Linked DNA regions of Homo sapiens: regions 2 and 3 are each linked to region 1. The links are contacts of gene promoters, found by promoter capture Hi-C in blood cells and fetal thymus (Javierre and others, 2016). All regions are on one chromosome and are shown on one strand. Each heading gives the region's core, a stretch centred on a gene start or on the middle of the fragment in contact. The rest is flanking DNA. Distances are from core to core; before and after follow the strand shown. Region 1 holds the start of RAB11FIP4 (RAB11 family interacting protein 4). Region 2 overlaps NF1 (neurofibromin 1). Region 3 overlaps NF1 (neurofibromin 1).

Region 1 (5,060 bases), core at 653-3,152:
AAGGTTCTAATGGCAGGAACTGTCCAGCTGGGGGAGAAGTGGGTGAGGCTTGCTGGGCACGTGGCTGAGGCCGGTGGCCCCTGCCAGAGGTTGTTGGGAGGCCCTTCCCACTACTGAGGCTCTGAGTTCGGGGACTCCAGGTTTCAGCCAGAGCTGGTAGCTTCTTTACCCGACCTGCAGTCTGTGTTCTGAGAGGAAGGAGCGCGACTATCCCCATGCCAGGAGTCTGCTCAGCCTGCCCCAGATGGGAGCCACTGGAAAAACGGAAGGGCTTGGCTGGCCTTTGGGGAAGAAGGGTCATGGTGGCAGCAGGCAGTGTCCCTCAGCAAAGCCCCGCAGAGGGCAGTCTGGGCTCTCACAGGCACTGCAGTGGTCTTTCCTGTGGTGGGTACCTGAGTTCTCAAGCCCTGAAGCTGCCTCACTCTCTTCTGCCCACAGCTCTCAGCGACTCACAAGTCCCGGCCCATGCCCAGGTGCGGGTGGAGAGATGATTCTCAATCGCCTCCCACTCTCTGGTGACGCAGAGGCACGGGCCCAACCTGGCCATCACCCAGCTTCTCCCATGTTCTGAAATGCCTGGTCCGACCTGTTCTGGGAACACAATGCCAGCCAGTGCCCATTTGAGGCCCATGGCCCCAGGCCCCCCATGCAGGGCCTGAGGCCTTAGATGGCCTTGGAAACCCACTTCTCAGGGCTTTTGGCTCCAGGGGAAACCCCTGACCATTTCAGCCAGGTGGGTGTCTTGTCCTCCCCTTGAGACACAGTCCCCAGTCCCCATGCCGGTGGCACCAGAGGACACTGGTGTAGTGTGCGTTTAGTGATATGACTCCGTCCACCCTACTGGCGGCACCGACCCTCCGCTTCCAGCCCTGTTAACAATCTACGTAAGTCCTGCTTTCCCCAAATAGATGCGGCCCCGCCACATGAAAGCCCTCTGCTCAGCCACCACTCCCCGAGCCTGGCTTTGCCTGGCCTGCTGCAACCAACACAGCCAGCTGCCAGCCTGGCTGCCCAGCAGAGCCTGAATGAGAGGTCACCCGACACTGGCCCGGGAGTACACGGTGGCCCCAGCAGACACCTCCTTCCGTGTCTGGGCAGGGTGTGTGCAGCCGAGGAGCCAAGGCTGCAGAGCACCCCTACCGGTCCCTTTCACCCCCTGGCCCGGCCCAGCAGGACGTACACAGACCCTTGCATCTTGGTCTCCGCAGCGCCGGGTGGGGTGGGGAGCCTAGGGCCGGATTCTGGCAGCTCTCTCCCCCAGACAAGGGTGGATGTGCAGACCGCTCAGAAGGACCTGCATGGCCGAGGAAGGAAGGTGGGCGCAGAAGCCACCCTAGGCGTGACGCGTGACGCTCGGGGCACGGGCGCCGGGGGGCGGAAAGCGAGGGCCCGGCTGGGCCAGGGATACCCGGGGGGGGCCGAGGTCCTGGGCTCCGGCGGAGGGAGGGGATTGGGAGGGAGGCCACCGCCTCGGGCCACGCGGGTGACCCGGCGGGGGAGCTGGGGGAGGGGCGGCGGGGCTGGGCTGGGGTCCCCGGGCCGGGACTGGGGTCGGGCCAGCTTACCTCCTCGCCCTGGCCGAAGCGCAGTCCGAGCGCCGCGACGCGCTCCACGCGCAGGAAGCCGTCGGGGTCGCGGCCGCACACCTCGAACACCTCGCGCAGGCGGCGCACGGAGCGCAGCAGAGCCGCGGGGGCGCCCGACCAGCCCGCGCCGCCCGCCATCCGGGCCGGCCCGCAGCTCAGCCCGGACCCCTCGCCCGCCGCGCCCGCCGCCTGCCCGCCGCCGCCATCGCCGCGCGCCCTCCGGGGCCGCCCGTCTGGGTCTGCGCCGCGCAGCCTCCGCCCGGTGGCGGCCGCGGCCGATCCGTGTCAGCAGCGGCGCCGCAGCCCCAGCCGCTCCGGAGGGGAAGGGAGGGGAGGGGAGGGAAGGAGAAGAGTGGGGAGGGGAAGGAGGAGGGGCAATAGGGGGCGGGGAGGGGAGGGGCGGGGGCCGCGGCGAAAATGGGAGGGAGAGGGGGAGGCGGCGGGGGCGGCGGCGGCGGGGACGCTGCAGACAAAAGGAGCCCGCGTCCTCCCGAGTGGGGCGGCCCACGCGGGGCCGGCAGGCGCAGCGAGCTGCCAACGGCCGCGTCCTCCGCGACCTCAGTTTCCCTCCGCGTCCCCAGTTTCCCTCCGCGTCCCCGAGCCCACCCCTTCCTCTGGACACCCGGAGCCACCCAAAGGCCCTGCCCTGCCGGAGGATTCCGCGGGGTCGCGCCCCTTTCCGCTATCCGTGCCCGCTGCCGCGCCTGGCGTCTCCCGAGCGCTCAGGATGTCCTGGGGGCCTCCTGCATTGGCGCGTTCCGTGACTGCATTCATCCCGGAGGAAGCTGAGGCCCAGAGAGGTCGGACTCACTCTAGGCCACACAGCTGGCAAGAGGCAGGGCCGGGATTCGCTGCCATCTCTGGAGGGCTCTGGACTCCGTTCTTCACCTCCGCCCTGCGGTCTCCCGGCGCTCTCCTGCAAGACAGCACTTGTGGGGCCATCGGGCGGGGGAGGGCACAGAGAGGAGGAGCAGGCAACTGAACCCCAGCCTGGACCCGGGACCCTGCGACGGGGAGATGAGGAGAAAACCAGGATGAGGCCGGAGGGAGGAAAAGCGAGGCGCTTCCAGAGGCCTGCCTGTTCAGGGCCCAAGGCTGCTCCACGCCTGGAAGAGGCTTCCTCCCTTTCGCCGGGTTCCCACCATCACACCTCCCTGGCAGCCCGCATGCCCCAAGCTCAGAGAATCCAGGACAGAATCTCTGTCCCGCTGGCCGCAGGCTCTAGGTCAGGACCCTGGCCTCCTCCCATTAGTGCTCAGCGGAGCCTCCACCCCAGCTTGTGCTAACTTCCCAGCCCAGCCTCGGGGCCCTGCAGGACCCGGCCGGGCTCTTCTCTCCACCTTCTTGCTCGGCACATCAGGTCTTTGTGGCAACGACTGGCCCCAACCCAAAAAAAGGCCTTGGCTGAGTCTACTCCCACCTATGCTGTCATGCTCAGCACAGAGGTTTCCTCCTCCGGGAAGGCTTCTCTGATGGCACGCCATCTTATCTTCTATTCTGAGTTCTAAGCCCTTCTTCCAGGTGCCCAGTTAATTCTTAATTCTCTAGTGGGATGCCCATTTCCCCTACCATGCTGGGAAGCCCTCCAGGGCAAGATATGTCTTAATTACCTTCAAGTCCCTGATCTCCAGGCAAGAGTGGGCCCAGAGGAAGCCCCACCCAGAGGGGATGGGCCCGCCCATTATGTGAGGAGCCGGGAGCAACGTAGTGGCGCAGACAGGGAGTACGGGGTGAACTGCATGGCCTCCCCTAGCTGGGCCTCGGTTTGTACCTCTGTGGTCTTCCTGCTCAACCCTGAATATATCCTGCGCAGGGACTGCCATTTGCCTTCTGACAGTGGGCGGGGACCTCTTCTTTCCAGCCCCGGCTCCTGGGATGAACCTGGCTTTTAGCTACTCTCCTTTGACCCTTCAGTTCGTCTGAGAGCCACGAAAGGCAACACCTCTTGGGAAGAGAGACCTGTGGTTCTGAGGATTGAGGAGTCCGAAATGTGAGAAAGCGGGAAAGGGGAGGCCGTGGGAGTGGAGTAGGGGTATTCGGCTGAGTAGGAGCGTCTCTGCTAGCTGGATGCCGCTCAGCAGGATACTAGCATATTTTAGCCGGTTTCCTCGCCTGTACCGTGAGGATAATAGTACCTTCCTTTTAGGGCAACTGAAGATGAGAGCGAATCTAAGCAATGCTGCTTTCCCCCGACCTACCCTGCAAAATGGAGGTGGAAGTGGAGAATAAGGACAAGCAGCTGGCTGGGAGAGACTGGCTGCTGGAGATCCAGCCAGCCCCCTGGCAAGGAGGTAGGGAGTGGAAGCTGGGGGCTGCTGCCTGCCCCTGGGACCCCGATATTAGTTCGTCCAAGGTCAGCTCGTGCCATTTTCTCTCACCCAAGGGGCTCAGCACAGAAAGGAGATGGCCAGGAGCTGGGGCTGCCCCCTGGTGGGGGCTGCAGAAATGGCTCTCCGCGCTCAGCCTGGCATTGAATGCCCCCTAACTGGGGACAGGGGAGCTGGAAGACTCACCCACTTCAGCTGGCAGAGGCGGGGACCTCAGACCTGAGCATGAACAAATCCCAAGTGAACCAAGACAGAATCCCGCAACCAGATTAGCCAGTTCTTGTCAAAGACAGGATCATCACAAATTCAAAAATCCCCCAGGAGAGCTTTCCCTGACCGGACTCTCCTTGCCCAGGTCTCTGCAGTTTTGTCTCTGGTGGGCGATGGTTTGAAGGACACCTGCCTCCCCCACCAGTGGCACTGGGTCTCTTGCTCACCGCTGTGCTGCTGGGGCCAGCAAAGCACGTCACAGGCATTCTTTCTGGGGTTGTCACGTTTTTGTTGAGCACCTACGTTGTGTTGGGTATGCTAGGGAGACAGTGAAAGGGGTGCAGCCACTTGCTGAACTTGATGGGGGCAGTCATGGCCCAGTGTGATCTACACTGAGGTGCCAGGCTCTAGGAGCCCAAGAGGGCCTGCAGAAATGGCTGAGTGCCTACCCAAAGGTCCCTCAGAGATGGTGCAATTTATGGAGTCCTTGGGTCCTTGGAAGTGGACCTGGGACCACTAGGGCTCCCAAAACCCTGATCCAAGAGCTCAGAGTGCAGCCCCGAGCAGAAGCAGCAAGAGAATACCCATGTCAGGGCCGGCTGCAGGGTGAAGGGGGTTGCTCCAGGAAAGCAAGAGGTCCCCATGGATAGGGCGGGAAGGCGCGGAGCCTCCTTTCTGTCCTCCGCTTCCTCCAGGTGACCTCTGATTCTCCAGGGGATTTCCAACAGCTGCAGCAGCCTGGGCAGGCTGGAAATATACTGGGAAATATACATGGAAGGGACAGTTGGGACTCCGGCCCCTTCTCTAGGAAGAAACAAGTTTGATCAGGTCCCTCCCCTGCTGAAAACTCAATGGCCACCATTGCCTGAGCTGGCATTGTGCAGTGTCTTCATACTCTCCTGCCTCTCCTTAACCCTAGTCTGGGAGCATCCAGGCT
Region 2 (5,060 bases), core at 2,411-4,910, 180 kb after region 1:
AACCATCTAGGTTCATGTAAGCAGACTCTATGATGTTTGCACAATGACTGAATCACTAAGGATGCACTCATTTCTCAAGACATGTCCCTGTCATTAAGTGATGTATGACTATATTAGTTTAATTATGTCACCTCTTAATCCCAAATATCAACATGTAAATTCTGTTCCAACATGGTTGCCTAATATGAAATGTATGACTTCAGAAATTCCAATAAATTTAATTCATCTCAAATACCTTTTAATTTTAGTGGGTTACAGAAAGTGAGGAAAAACATGCTAAAGAAGCAATGTGTTTCTTAATTAGAAATGTAAGAAAAAAATTCATTCATTCATTAGTTGATCTTCTATATTGCAGGTATTAGTAGGAATAGAAGCTGGTACATGTGATCTGGCCAAAGATGAGAGGCAATCATGTCTGGGAAGAAATTCATGAACCAGAGTCTTCAGATATCTATTAAAGGCCCAAACCACTTGTTAATTTAGACCATGTGACTGAATAACAGGCATGTAAGAAAGATCTGGTGAGCCAGCATGCCACTTAAGATAAAAAATGTTGAGAAATAACAAATACTTGTGAAAATTCATATATCTGTTATTGGCAGTTTTGAATTTTATGAAAGCAGGAGATGTTAGTTTGCAAATAGTAAAATCAGTGCTAAGACAAACATTTCAAATATTAAAAAAATACTACAAAGGTACAAAGGAGAAGTTATGGCTCAACATTCATATAAAAAGGGCCAAAGAGTTTAAATAACTAAAAAGTCAACATAAAATAATAATACTATCTTAGATTGTATTAATAGAAACAGGGTATACAAACACAGCAGTTTAATAGCTTTTATCAATTATTACATCATAGTATTATATCTGTATCACTAACATCAGATCTTAATATGGCATTTTAATTTTAAAAATTTTTGTCAGGTTGGTCTTTCCAGAAGAGAAGCAAATCAGAAACAGGAGGGTTTTTTGTTTTTTGTTTTTGTTTCTTTGAGACAGAGTCTCGCTCCGTTGCCCAGGCTGACAGTGCAGTGACACAATCTTGGCTCACTGCAACCTCCGCCTCCCGGGTTCAAGCAATTCTCCTGCCTCAGCCTCCTGAGTAGCTATAACTACAAGTGCCTGCCACCACGCCTGCCTAATTTTTTTGCATTTTTAGTAGAGACAAGGTTTCACCATGTTGGCCCAGTTGGTCTCAAACTCCTGGTCTCAAGTGACCTGCCCGCCCCGGCCTCCCTAAGTGCTGGTATTATAGGCATGAGCCACTGTGCCCGGCCTGTACGAGGATTTTGAAACCACATCAAGTAAGAAATTCATTCCTTCATTCATTCTGCAAACATGTACTAAATGCCCAATATGTATCAGATGTTGTTCAAACGTTAGGGATTCAGTGTTGATTAAGCCAGACAAAGCTACTGCTTTCATCAAGCTAACTTGCTAGTGAAGAAGGACAACTAAAGAACCTGATAAAGACACTGAACTGAATGTCAAGAAACCTCAGAACTAACTCTGGTTGACTGTTCATTAACCATGCATTTGTTATTAATATAACTTTATTTAAGCTTCAGTTTCTTTAGCTATAAAAACAGACCCAACAAACACACATACAGTTTTAAAGAGAGCTAAAAGAGGCCAGGCACAGTGGCTCATGCCTATAAGCCCTGCATTTTGGGAGACTGAGGCAGGTGGATCACCTGAGGTCACAGTTCAAGAGTAGCCTGCCCAAAATGGTGCTAAATGGTCTACTAAAAACACAAAATTAGCTGGCATGATGGTGGGCACCTGTAACCCCAGCTAGTCGGGAGGCTAAAGCAGGAGATCACTTGAACCTGGAAGGTAGAGGTTGGAGTGAGCCAAGATTGCATCACTGCACTCACTCCAGCCTGGGTGACAGAGTGGGACTCGGAGTGGGACTCTGTCTCAAGAAGAAAAAAAAAGAGAGAGAGCTAAAAGAATAAAATCCCTTCCAATGCCAAAACGATATAAAAATAAAACGAATTCTAGGAGTACAGAATAACCTTATTCAAATATCTGCAGGGCCACCTTGTGGAAGAATCAGAAGTATTCTATAGAGCTCCAACAGAAAGAGGATCAGTGATGGCTGTAAGTGACAGAGACATGATTCTATCTTGGTCGAAGAGAAAATTTTCAAATAATTAGCTCCTTCCAACAAGTAACTTGTCTCTCCAAAATACAAAGTGTTAGTAAAGCCTTGAAGCAGATATTATTTTACTTTTACTGTTTTGCAACAGAACTCCTAGATTGCTACTTCTGAAGCAAGCTAATGGCTCAGGTTTATCAGTCCCAAATCATTTGAGGCAATACAAATGAGGGACAACCCACTGAACATACTCTGTAATACAGTAGTTCTCAACTGGGGGTGATTTTGTCCCCCAAGGGGCATCTGGAAATGTTTGGAGACATGTTTGGTTTTCATGACTTGGAGGGCTGGGGGGTAAAGGGAATATTGGCATCTAGTGGGTAGAGGCCAGAGATGCTGCTGAATATCCCACAATGCGCAGTACAGCCCCCTATAACAGAGTTATCCAGTCCAAAATGTTAATAGTGCCAACAGTAGGAAACTCTGATGTTAGGTATTATCTGTAAACCATTTATTATATATATTTGCCTGTGTTGCCAGACTCCATGCCACCTGTAGTGAGTTTTTTTGTTTGATTTTTTTTTTGAGACCGATTCTCGCTCTTGTTGTCCACACTGGGGTGCAATGGCGCCATCTCAGTTCACTGCAACCTCTGCCTCCCAGGTTCAAGCGATTCTTCTGCCTCAGCCTCCTGAGTAGCTGGAATTACAGGGATGCACCACCACGCCTGGCTAATTTTTGTATTTTTAGTAGATATAGGGTATCACCATGTTGGCCAGGCTGGTCTCGACCTCCTGACCTCAGGTGATCCGCACACCTTGGCCTCCCAAAGTGCTGGGATTACAGACGTTAGCCACCGTGTCCGGTGTTGAGTTCTTCATTAGACATTTTCAAGCAAAAGCTATAAACCTTTTGCTTGGAATCTCGGTGAGGGGAAGTGCTGTGTATGTTTAGTTCACCATGCTTCCCTGGCATTAGCACCTTTGCCTGGCAAAGAGTAGAAGGTCAATACTTCCATACTGGTTATCTGACTGTTAACTCACCAAGTTTATGAAGGGTGAGATTTTACCCTAACAGCCATTCAAAACCTAAAATTTTCTTATTCTAAAAATTGTTTCATATTACATTTGCTATTTATTTTCTCTCCTGGTAATATCAGCCCAAAAGCTGTCCTTTAGTCATTATGTACAAATATACATACATATAACATTTCAAAAACATAAACAGCTTAGGAATGATTTTGAAAATTAAATGTATATTGATATTTTCAGAAAATAATTAGAAATAAAAACTAAATTCTTATTACAGGTGTCCTTGAGCCAAAAGAGGAAATCCTCTCTAGTTATGGCTTTTCGGTAAAATAATATGTAGCTCTGAGAATCAGCTTATAACTAGGGCTAAGAAGTAAAATAACTTCTAAGTGTAGAGAACATATTTAGACTACCAATCAAATTTTACCTCTGTTCAAAATAATCATTTAGTTTCATTTTTAGTCCTTATTCACAGAAAATTATGGGCAGCTGGTAAAGTGGATATTGAAGTTAAATAGGAAGTGAATATTAACCCCCCAACAAGTCCTATTATTGGAGGTCATTAACTTTCTACCAGAAAAGGTAGTAAACTTAAAGCAAAAAAGTCAAATAAACTTCTGATTTCCCAGATCTCTGGAATAAACAGGTCAATAAATAACTTTTAAACAACTTATTTCAAGTAGTTTTAAAAGATTTTTTAAAAATATCTTATTAAATGACATTTAAACAGCTATTATTTATGCTTACCTCCAATTAACTTATACCTGTACTGAAAATTTCTTCAACTTAAAAAAAAGTGAAGTACTTGGCATTACAAAAAGTCAACTAAAAGGTAACCTTGCATTTTAAAGTTTACTTAAGGAAACATCATTGCCATGATCTTTTGGCTATATTTTTTAGGCTCAATAATCCCAAAATATATGACATAAAAAACTTCTCTATTTGAACATCTAAGATAAACAATCCTCAGAAATAATTACTGACAACTGGATAAGAGTGAACCACAACTGTATAAAACCAAAATATTTCACTGACTAAGGGGACTTGGAAAAAGAGAAGCATGCCAGGGAGAAAGCTGTTTAAATTATCTCCTAACTGTGAAATGACTAACTTACTAGATAAAACCAACAGGTGAAGACATGCTATATTTTCAGTTGAAATGACAAGATGTGACTATAATGGTAACTATACACAGAAAAGTCAAAGAAACCAAGGACTTTTCTGATGTAGTTACAATGGGTCATACTTACAGCCACAGAAGCCCACTGCCATGCAAAACAGTGACTGGTTGGCATCTGATCATGTGAGCGACAGCAGCCAATAATAGAAAATAAGAAGCAGAAGACAAAGCACCACCAATCAATGTCAAGAGTTGCTCTTGTATAATACTCTTGCTATACATAAACACCAAAAAAATGACTTCCACAATCTTATAATTATCTTTTTAAATTGATTCCATAGGAGTTTTAAAATTCCATATTAAGAGTAATAATCTGTGAGAATACCCAATTTTAAGTCTGCTTTTTATTAAGTTTAGAGTCAAATGTCAGTATCAAAGTTCCTATCAGTTGTAAAACCTCAAGGCATATTTGTTGAAATACAAAATATTTTTATTTTAAATACAAAAACTCTAAATTTTATTCATTTCCTATGTTTAATAGTCACCATTCAATTAGCTAAAATGTGCATTGGCAGCAACATTCACTCTAACCCAGGAGTCAGCTTCCCTTACTCATCCCCAAAACGTGAGAGGCTAATCAAAATATTTTTGTTCAAAAGTTTTAAGGAGAAAAAAAACTTTAAAAACAGAAAAAAAAGGTGACATTCATTAAGACTTTCAGTGTTTTGTGAGAAAATTTATCTAAGAAAAGTTAAGTTCAACTCATGGAAACAGTGGAAAACAAACATAATCTAGTATTCAACAATAT
Region 3 (5,060 bases), core at 2,561-5,060, 150 kb after region 1:
GCCTACAAGAAACAGACATCATCTATAAGGAAAAACACAGACTGAAAATAAAGCAAAGAAAAAAGATATTCCATGGCTGGGCATGGTAGCTCATGCCTGTAATCTCAGCACTTTGGGAGACCGAGGCGGGTGGATTGCTTGAGGTCAGGAGTTTGGGACCAGCCTGACCAACGTGGTGAAACCCTGTCTCTACTAAAAATACAAAAATCAGCTGGGCATCGTGGCAGGCACCTGTAATCCCAGCTACTCAGGAGGCTGTGGCAGGAGAATCACTTGAACCCAGGAGGCAGAGGTTGCAGTGAGCCAAGATCACGCCACTACACTCCAACCTGTGTGACAGAGCAAGACTGTGTCTCAAAACAAACAAACACACAAACAAAATACACATGGCAAACAGGTACATGAAAAGGTGCTCAACATCACTGATTATCAGAGAAATGCAAATCAAAACTACAATGAGATATCACATCACCCTAAAGTTGCTTTTATCCAAAAGACGGGCAATAACAAATGGTGACAAGGAGAAAAGTGAGAAAAGGGAACCCTCATACACTATTGGCAGGAATGTAAATTAGTATAATACTATGGAGGACCATTTGGAGGTTCCTCAAAAAACTAAAAATAAAACTACTATATGATCCAGAAATCTCACTACTAGGTATATACTGAAACAAAAGGAAATCAGTATATTGAAGACATATCGGCACTCCCATGTTTGTTGCAGCACTATTCACAATAGCCTACATTTGGAAGCAACCTAAGTGTCTGTCCACAGAAGAATGGATAAAGAAACTGTGGTACATATACACAACGGAGTACTATTCAGACACAAAACATGAGATTCCTGTCATTTGCAACAACACGGATGGAACTGAAGGTTATGATGTTAAGTGAAATAAGCCAGGCAAAGAAATACAACATCGTGCGCTCTCTTATTTGTGGAAGCTAAAAAAATTAAAACAATTGAACTCATGGAGATAGAGAGTAGAATGATAGTTACCCAGAGGCTGGGAAGTGTAGTGGGGGGTGGGGAAGGGGAGACCGGGGATGGTTAATGTGTACAAAAGAATATAAATGAGATCTGGTTATCTGATAGCACAAGGTGACTACAGTCAACAAGAACTTATTGTACATTTAAAAATCACTAAAAGAGTATAATTGGATTGTATGTAACATAAAGAAACGATAGGCCGGGCACGGTGGCTGACGCCTGTAATCACAGCACTTTGGGAGGCCAAGACAGGCGGCTCGCCTGAAGTCAGGAGGTCAAGACTAGCCTGGCCAATATTGTGAAACCCTGTCTCTACTAAAAATACAAAAATTAGCCAGGCATGGTGGTGGGCACCTGTAATCCCAGCTACTCGGGAGGCTGAGGCAAGGAGAATTGCTTGAACATGGGAGGCGGAGGTTGCAGTGAGCCAAGATAGCACCACTGCATTCCAGCCTGGGCGACAAGAGTGAAACTCTGTCTCAAAAAAGAAAAAAGAAAGGATCAATGCTTGAGGTGATGGACACCCCATTTACCCTGAAGTGATTACTACACATTCCATGTCTGTATCAAAATATTTCATGTACCCCATAAATATAAACACCTACTATGTACCCACAAAAAAATAAAAATTAAAAAATAAAAAGATCTAGCTTTGCGTTTCATTATTTTTTTCCTATTTTTAATTTCATTGATTTCTGATTCCTCCCCCCATCTTGCTTTAGGTATTGCTCTTTGTCTAGTTTTCTAAGGTGAGAGCTCAGATAATTCATTTTAGATTTTCTTTTCTAACATACATTTAACACTGCTAAGCAACTGCTTTTATTAAACCCCACAAATTTTGATGTATTTTCATTTTCATTTATTCTTCTGTTTGTCTTTGCATTTCAGTTTGGGAAGTTTCTCTTGATATAACTACAAATTCACCAATTCTTTCTTCAGTGGTGCCCAGACTACTGATAAGCCCACTAAAGGAATTCTCCCTGTTACAGCTTTTTTCTCTAGCCTTCTCTTTTGATTCTTTCTTAATTTCCATGTCTCTGCTTACATTACCCATCTGTTCTTACACACTGTCCATTTTCCATGAAAGCCCTTAGCATATTAGTTATTTTAAACTCTCAGTTTGACAATTTCAAAGTTCCAATACATCTTGCCACATCTGAGTCTGATTCTGATGCTTGCTTTGTCTCCTCAGACTAATTTTTCATTTTTTGTTAGCATGCATTGTAATGTTTTGTTGAAAGCCAGACAAGATGTATTGGGTCATAGGAACTGAGGTAAATTGGACTTTAGTGTGAGGCATTCTGTTAATCTGCCTAGAAGTTAGGTTATGTTTAATGTTCGCTGTAACTGTAGGCGCCCATTTCCTCTAGTGCTCTTATTTCTGTCTCTTTTGTTGTCCCTGGGTTTCCCCGTTAACTGGGATACTGGGGAAGGGAAGTACTCTACAATCTGATTATATCTCCATTGTTTTATTGGGCCAAATTCCTTAAAGTGTGACCTTCAAAGAGTTTCTTTTTTTTTTTTTTTTAGACAGAGTCTCGCTCTGTCGCCCAGGCTGGAGTGCAGTGGTGCAAATCTCAGCTCACTGCAACCTCCACCTCCTGGGTTCAAGCGATTCTCCTGCCTCAGCCTCCTGGTAGCTGGGACTACAGGCACGTGCCACCACACCCAGCTAATTTTTTGTATTTTTAGTAAAGACAGGGTTTCACCATGTTAGACAGTATGGTCTCGATCTCCTGACTTCGTGATCTGCCCACCTCAGCCTCCCAAAGTGCTGGGATTACAGATGTGAGCCACCAGGCCAGACTCAAAGAGTTTCTTAGCCTTTTCTCTCTTCTTACAGAAACGCTAGAGGGGGCTGGAGGTGGCTAACTTCTAAGTCAAATAAAGCTCTGGTAAAGTAATTTCTCCTGAGGGCAAACCTTTGCTAGGGATAACAGAACACTGTGGTCATATTTAAAAATGGCTACTTTTCCCCTTCCCCTGCCCAAAGCATAAAGGGATTTTTCTCCTATCTTCACCATGAGAGCCTGATGAGGCTTCTGGAGGTAAAACTTACAAAGGTGCAGGGGTCCCTGCAAGACTAGGCCCCTAGGAGTTTTAACTCTCTAGGCACTCCATGCTCAGCCTCCAGCAACTCGTCAATTATGATCTAAGCTTTCCTACCAGTTACTGGCTCCAGCAGCTTCTTCTCCTGGTAAACTGTGATTCTCTGTATACATTTACCTGTCTCTCCAGTTTTTGGAGTGGACTTAAATTCTCTGATGGATCTAAGAGCTGCTGATTTTCAGTTTTTTAGCTTTTTTCATGTTGTGAACACAGGAGTGTTGACTTTCAAGCTCTTGACATGTCAGAGTGGGCCTCAGTTTGATTTTAAGCAACCTGAGTATATTGTTTGCCATCTAGTTCTCTTATCTGGACCACAGCACTTTGTATAGTAAACTTATTTGAAGCAGCTGGTTCACTCTCTAAGTAATTCTTTAACCTTTAGAAAGTAAAATTGCTTAATAATAAGATTCAGTAAAATTGTAGGGCACAAAATTAACATAAAATCCGTAATAATGTATTATGTACACTTGAAAATTGCAAAAAAAAAAAAAAAAAGTAGACATGAGAAGTTGTCAAGAAAAAAACTGAAAGTGCTTAATGGCAAGAAAATACAAGGCTTTACAAAACATTGCTTTGGCCAGGCGTGGTGGCTCACATCTGTAATCCCAGCACTTTGGGAGGCCACAGCATGTGGATCTCTTTAGTCTAGGAGTTTGAGACCAGCCTGGGCAACAAGGCAAAACCTCGTCTCTACCAAAATACAAAAATTTTGTATTTTGCATGGTGGTGCATGCCTGTAATCCCAGCTACTTGGGAGGCTGAGATGGGAGAATCGCTTGAGTCCTGCACAGGAAGGTTGCAGTGAGCCGAGATGGTGCCACCGCACTCCAGCCTGGGTGACAGAGTGAGACCCCATTTCAAAAAATAAGAAGTAAATAAAAATATAAAAATTGCTTTTAAGTTTTTAACTATTTTAACAAAAATTGGCTTAGTGCTGGAGTTCTGAATAGATATTACAGTTGATACTTCAGCAAATGCAGAGCCAAAAATATCAACTGATACACAGTTGCTAAATAATGATTATTTAGGAAGAACAATCATCAAGAAGCTCTGAACTTAAAAGTAAAAAATAAAGTCCTAACTGAAAGACAGACAAGAACATCTTAACATGTGGCTTAGAAAAAGCAAGCATAAGATATTCCGTTAAAATTCATTCACTTAACAAATATTTATAAAATGTTCACTATAAGGCAGACACCATGCTAAATATTCATGGAAGGATATAAAGATGTAAAAATGTAAAAGAGCAAACAGTCTAGAGGAGAGAGAAACTCATAAATCGTCACAATTGTTACAATGGTGGTGCACAGCACAGAACAAAGCATATTTCTTTGTTCGTGGGTAGTACCTGGTAACAAGCAGAGAAAGCTTCACAGAAATGGTGGTTTAAACTGCACTCTGGGCTGGGCATGGTGGCTCACACCTGTAATCCCAGTATTTTTGGAGGCCAGGGCAGGCGGATCACCTGAGGTCAGGAGTTTGAGACCAGCCTGGCCAAGATGGTGAAACACCATCTCTATTAAAAATACAAAAAAAAAAAAAAAATTACCTGGGCGTGGTGGCGCACACCTGTAATCCCAGCTACTCAGGAGGCTGAGGCAGGAGAATCACACGAACCTGGGAGGCAGAGGTTGCAGTGAGCCGAGACTGCGCCAGTGCACCCCAGCCTGAATGGCAGAGTGAGACTCTGTCTCAAATTTTTAAAAAAATGACAAATAAATAAACTGCAGCCTGCATTACCTATTAGCCTCTTTCCCTTCTCCTAAGTCACTCCTCATCATAGAAGAAGTGAGTTAGAAAAAGAGTATGCATGCAAGTGACTGCATATGAATATGTAAATGCATGGAAAAAGGACAGGGGAACAGACTTAACTAGTAACAGTCTCTGGAGGTGGAAGTCAAAGACACCTTTCTCTAGTTTGTCCCTGGATCTAAGGCAAATAAAAGGATACCTTAAAAAA

The links. Contacts are between HindIII fragments. The CHiCAGO score rates a contact against its expected background, and 5 or more counts as called.
Region 2: a contact is called between a fragment that was not itself captured here and the fragment with the promoter of RAB11FIP4 in region 1, in 1 of 17 cell types (neutrophils). The highest score is 5.5, in neutrophils.
Region 3: a fragment that was not itself captured here is called in contact with the fragment with the promoter of RAB11FIP4 in region 1 in 1 of 17 cell types (M1 macrophages); the score reaches 5.3 in M1 macrophages.

What each region holds. Positions count from the first base shown.
Region 1 is chr17:31,388,517-31,393,576 of GRCh38, reverse strand. RAB11FIP4 (RAB11 family interacting protein 4) reads right to left here and starts at 1,902. Exons shown (of 15, transcript NM_032932.6): 1 at 1,566-1,902. The coding sequence starts at 1,724. RefSeq lists an enhancer at 2,098-2,687. The HindIII fragment of the contact is 11,828 bases long and covers 1-5,060 here.
Region 2 is chr17:31,206,518-31,211,577 of GRCh38, reverse strand. The region is part of intron 12 of NF1 (neurofibromin 1); the gene reads right to left. Among named protein-coding and RNA genes, the nearest start is that of OMG, 88 kb to the left of the region's middle. The HindIII fragment of the contact is 4,191 bases long and covers 1,565-5,060 here.
Region 3 is chr17:31,236,192-31,241,251 of GRCh38, reverse strand. The region is part of intron 29 of NF1 (neurofibromin 1); the gene reads right to left. Among named protein-coding and RNA genes, the nearest start is that of OMG, 59 kb to the left of the region's middle. The HindIII fragment of the contact is 1,320 bases long and covers 3,151-4,470 here.